Linked DNA regions of Homo sapiens: region 1 is linked to region 2. The links are contacts of gene promoters, found by promoter capture Hi-C in human tissues and cell types (Jung and others, 2019). All regions are on one chromosome and are shown on one strand. Each heading gives the region's core, a stretch centred on a gene start or on the middle of the fragment in contact. The rest is flanking DNA. Distances are from core to core; before and after follow the strand shown.

What was found. The method cuts DNA at HindIII sites, captures the fragments that hold promoters and counts their contacts. A contact is called where the count stands out against the background at its distance.
Region 1: a contact is called between a fragment that was not itself captured here and the fragment with the promoter of ARL15 in region 2, in 1 of the 25 tissues and cell types used here (stomach).

The regions. Positions count from the first base shown.
Region 1 is chr5:53,463,749-53,466,487 of GRCh38, forward strand. No RefSeq gene overlaps it. Among named protein-coding and RNA genes, the nearest start is that of FST, 16 kb to the right of the region's middle. The HindIII fragment of the contact is 4,049 bases long and covers 1-2,739 here.
Region 2 is chr5:54,309,181-54,311,949 of GRCh38, forward strand. It overlaps ARL15 (ARF like GTPase 15), which reads right to left and starts at 1,393. Exons shown (of 5, transcript NM_019087.3): 1 at 1,252-1,393. The coding sequence starts at 1,299. The HindIII fragment of the contact is 9,246 bases long and covers 1-2,769 here.

The DNA of each region.
Region 1 (2,739 bases), core at 133-2,632, 850 kb before region 2:
ATGCAAATTCCACCACCTAGGAAACTTATTGTTCAGAGATGCTTGGGCAGCCTAAAAAAATAGGACACTTGTTTCAAGAAGCTCCCTTCTGGTGGAAATCACCCCAAAAGGACTAAGACATGACACCAGGCAGTCAACTAAACCTGTGCCCTGTAAGCACCTGTTCAAAGGACAACCAACAGTAACTTGGATCCCCACCCACATTCCCAGCAGTCTCCACATCAACACCCATGTGCCAGAACTGACATGAGTGGAAACACAAGGGTTCCAAAAACACAGTTCCAGAGTCACTCCATCAGCATTTAAGTTCTGCTCATTGAATCTCTGTCACCGGACATGTGCACTAAACCACAGCAGCTGTGCCAACCACAGGCCAAAGGAGCTTGATTAGAGGCAGAGCCAAGTTAAAAGGAGTGGGAAGAATGTGTAGAAGCTGAACAGTTAGTAATGTGGCATATACTCTGACTCCTGGGAAAGCAAAGCAGTCAACAGATCTGTGCTGCATATTTCAAACCTAGAGGACCTTTTTGTTAACTGAGATTTCATGCAACCCCAGAGGTGAACAGGCAAAGCCACCAATGGTGACAGCCTGTCTACATGTGTGCTTAGATGAGATTGTACTGTGCGTCATTAATCTGGCAGCTTTGAGCCCCATTCATACACATAAATAGTAATGCTGTCAGCAGCAGCATCTACTAGCACCAAGGACAAAAATAAATACTTCAACATGAAGTATAGACACAGGCCAAGACAGGTCTCTCTTGAGTTTTGAATTCTCATCATAGACTAAAGATGATTGATGGTGATAGTGCTGTGGTTAATGGACATACCACTGTATTTCCCATCACTTTTCAAGTACATGCTTCTGATTCCCTTGATTATTTTCAGTCTTTGCAAATGTTATTCTTCCTGAAATCCCCACTCCACTTTCTCAGTTGCCTCAGCTAACCAGTGGTTTCACTGAGCTCCCTTTCATTTCTGACATGTAACATGCAAGCTTTCATTGTTCAGCTACCTGGGCATTTCTCTTTTCCCCGGCACCCTCCCCCAACCATTTCACCAGACTGTGCTAGTCTATCAAGATGAAAACAACACTATGACACTCGGAACAAACTTCTCCTGTCAGATGCACACAGGGGGCCCTCTGTTGCACAATCTGCACTTGTTCCTCATGCAACAGAGATTCAACTCACAGATACGAGATCCAGACTGCAGATCAGAGGGGAGACTGACTTCTGCCCTTCATTTGAGCCAAAGAATACTTATCTCCTTATTTCCAACTTCTCAAGTTGCAGCTAGACCTGGGGAGATGTAAATATGTAAGTAAAACCAAAGACCATATTCACAGGTTATCCCTTTCAAAATGCCAGTACTTCTCAGTTGGCTTATCGCAGGCTGATTCCACTCTTTATTCATAAAGAGCCAATAGCAAGAAAAGGCAGCTCAGTGTGCGGGAAGGATTGCAGGAGTTACCGCCATATACTGATCTTTTTGTTCTGACACATTGATATGTGGGATTGGGCTGTGGGCAAAGTTACTATGTCTCTCTTTCTTGCAGCCCTAGGCTATCCTTAATCCATAGCTCTGCTGAAGAGATCCTTTCTAGGGAAAACATAACATAGGAAATTTAAATGATTGTTGCTGGTGTTTAATATTTATTGAACACCCACAACTGGACCAGGCACTCTACCGATGTGTAGCTTGCATCTTATTAGAATTTTCTGGGGAAAAACATCACTTTGACTGAAAGCTATTTAAAAAAAAAAAAAGCTGTTGAGCTATTGTAAGAGCAACAAGAATACACATTTCTCAAATATCTCTAATTGCTTTTCATAAGAATACAATTTTCTGCTCCTTCCATTAAGAACAGTCATTAACATGATATACTCAGTGATCCCAACTCTATAGTGCTTCTTTAAACATTTAGTTACATTTGCTAGTAGCTCAGGCTGAAAAAAAAATCACTATGTTAAAACGTATTTGTAAAGATTTTTTTTTTTTTCCAAAACATGTGTAATATAGTTGAAAATAAATTGACCTCACTTTCAAGCTGCACATTGTTAGTCTTTGTCTTGGTTCCCTGCCTTTCTCTTCCTCAGAACCCAAGGTTGGAGCCTCTGTAGCACTCGATCTGCAGAAACCAAGTCTACTTCCTTTCCTGAGATAGTCCGAACAGGAAAAGGAAGCACACAGTAGCCATCACCCCACTCTGTATTCTTACAGAGCTTGGCAACAGGTAACTTTCCCCAGACCCAGGAACCTTCCGTCCTGTCACCTATATCTTCATTGACAACCTGATCTGGAACCCTTCCTGAAACTCAATCTGCAGGCTGAGAACCCTGAACCTTTGTCTACTTCCTACCTGCCTTCCTTCTCAAAGCTAGACCCTGAATGTTGGCAGGAATCCTGAAAAGTGAAAAGTGTTTTTAACTCCTACATTTTCCAGAATACCATGATCTCTGCTGGTAAGACGCTGCTTGCCCTGTTGGACTGGTATTGGTGATCTCCTTAGATTTAAAAAAAAAACTCTGGATGGATATGCACCAAAACATTAATCATGGCTATCTCTGGGTGGTAAGAAAACACATGATTTCAATTTTCTCTTTTATTATATTTTCCAAATATTCTGCAGTGACACGTATTACCTTTTTACACAGGAGGAAAAAAAAGGTTTTCTTTTTTTGTTTTGTTTAAAACTTACCAAGACATACCATTATCCTTCCCGTGTTTCTGTTTCAG
Region 2 (2,769 bases), core at 143-2,642:
CAAATGAACAACAAAACAGAACTTGAATTCAGAATTTTAGATCCAGCTCCATTCACAAGGCTATGCATTAACTGCAGTCACCATCCTTTCCCACAAGACCATCAAGCTCTGAAGCATTAGGAGAAACATTTTCTTTATGTACACTAAAATAAGCCCAAATACACAGATAACAGCACAAAGCCGGTCCGGCGTTTCTTGGCCATCAAAGCATGCACAGACTTTCTCAGTACAGCCTTAAGTGTAATTCCTAGAAGGCACTGGCAAATCTCTGCCAGGCCAATCTGCAGTCGAAAACCGAGTGCATGTGTCCAACAAGATGACAGGAGGGTCAATGTTTCTAACCGTCTACTTCAACTCTGCATGGCAATAGCGGTTCTGCCCAACATGGTAAACACAATAATCGTATAGGATCGAACACAAGTCTCTGTAAATGAGGATCCCCTTAAACGCAAACAAGCAACTCTGGGGAAATATAATTTCTGGAACAAAACATGGTGCTCGCATAATTCCACAAAGACACATAGAAGTCCATTTTTAAAATGATGTTCGGTCCCAGCACTGTGCTGACACTTTTCCCACCTAAACTTCTCAGCACAAGCCTGGCCTAAACAGCCGGGTTCCAATCCGTGCACAGTGGAACCGCGGCACGCACCCAAGACCGGAATGGTGGGGCTATACCTGTCCCTACTCAGTCCTGTTCGTGCCAGCCTGCGAGGTAGTTTAGACCCGTCTGCTTTATGGTAATGTGCTTTTAAAACCCCGCCACGACCGAGGTCATAGCTTTAGAGATTTAATAACAATCAAATGACCAGGGCTGCTGGGCACTTAGTGAGCCATTCTGGTTATGGCTCTTTAATAGCACCTGGAGTTCTGCTCCAGGGAGAGAGGAAAACTCCTGCTCCCCCGGAAAGAAAGTCCTCTGCGGAGAGCGCAGAGGGAAGCCAGGAAGCCGATCGCGGGCAGGGGACGCGCCGCCGCGGCCGCCCCATCTCTCAAGCAGCCCCAGCGCGACCCTCGCCCTGCAGCCGTGCTGGCCCAGGCCGCACCTTTACCTGTCAGCTCCACCACCCACCCGCCCTGGAGGCTGCCCCTCCGAGTCCAGGGAAAGGCTTACCAGCCGGCTGCGGGAGAAAGAACCCCAGAGGCATCCTATCCCAAAGAAAGAAAGCAAAAAGGCTGCTCCTCAAGGCAGGGGGCCATCGGGCACGCCGAGATCCGAGAGGCGACATGCCACCCCTGCCCTGCACCTACCAGATAATCCATGTACAGAAACGCCTCAGTTATTCGGAGATCAGACATCCGGCAGCCTAAAGCATCCGGAACGGCTCCGAACCCGGAAAAAAAAAGCAGCGTCTCTGGCTGCGAGCGAGCAGCTCCTGAAAAAGCCAGCAACAGCGAAAATAGCCGAAAGCAGCCGACTAGCCGGAGATTACACAAGGGGCGCGGCGATTGGCCAGGCGGGCGGGCAGAAGGAAAGAAGCGTGCTCATTGGCTGCGGCGCCTATAAAAGGCAGGCCCCAGCTGGTGGCAGGAGAGAAACGCGGGAGTGGTGGGGGATGTGGGTTCCTGTGTGCTGAGCGGAGGAGCCGGGGTGGGGGCGGTGCAAGCGGAAGAAAGAGCCAAGAGAGCGGAAAATCGGCTGGTGCTGTCGCCGCCCGAGTTTTGTGTTTCCACAGCTTTCCAGTTGGGTACAACGGAGCCGAACTCCGTGTTCCCGGGCTGGAGAGCCTTGGTGTCCCCGCCAACCCCCAGTAGGAAGCGAGCGCTGTAACATGGGAGGCGTGGTCGCCACTGATCTTGTCTCCCCCCAGAGCCTTCCTAAAGGCTCTGCCGCCACGAGACTGCACCACCGGGAAAGAAGTGTGTGAAAGTGTACTCCGTAAACAGGCAATCCTGTACGCGACTTAGGGGCAGAAAGACCCTCCGCACTTTTATCATTTGAAAGTAAGGTGGACGATTCCAGCCTGGTGTCCCTGAGGGTACACACAGGCCCCCCGCGCAGCCAGAGGTGACTCAGGAACCCCCCTTCCAACCCCTGCGTAGAACGCCGAACAGTCTTCGGAGAATTCGCTTTCCTCCACGTGAAAAGGAAAAGAAAAACATTTGAGGAGTCGCAGTAGTCACTTGTACTCCCCAAACACACGGGAAGAAGTTGATCAGTTTGCATGCTTGGAGTCAAATTACGCTCAGCACAAATCCAACGCCCCTGAATTAAATGAGCAGTAGAAGCTCTCTGCAAAAAACACAACAGTATTTGTGACCCGGTATTATTTCAGGAGGTAAAAACATCTATAAGCAGATGCATTTGGGACGTATGCATTTCCTGGTAATGTCAATATCGCATTAAGCTAGTGGGTTTGGGCAGGGAAAGCCTGAATCGGACAAGAAGCTGGCTTTTTTTTTTTTTAGGCTATAAATAACCAGACCATGCCAGACACATGTTCTTAGGCTATGTTCTTAGGCTCAGGTGATTGGAGTGCCCCCCCCCCCATCCCCACCCTCAGGGCTTAGGGAGAATGGAAGATAAGGTGGATGCTGTCACCTGTATTAATAGTTAGGGCTTGCATACATACAGTAAAGTTTCAAGAGTGAAACTTCATCGACTGAACTCTTTATGAAGTGACTGCCTGACTCTACACGCGATGTTTTAGGAGTTGAATTTTTACTTTCCCCCTGACACCTTTCTTTTTTGTATCCTCAAGAAACAAATTTCCGTACCGTAAGTTTACCTGGGACTACCAAAACAGTTCTGTTAGATGACCGTGGAAT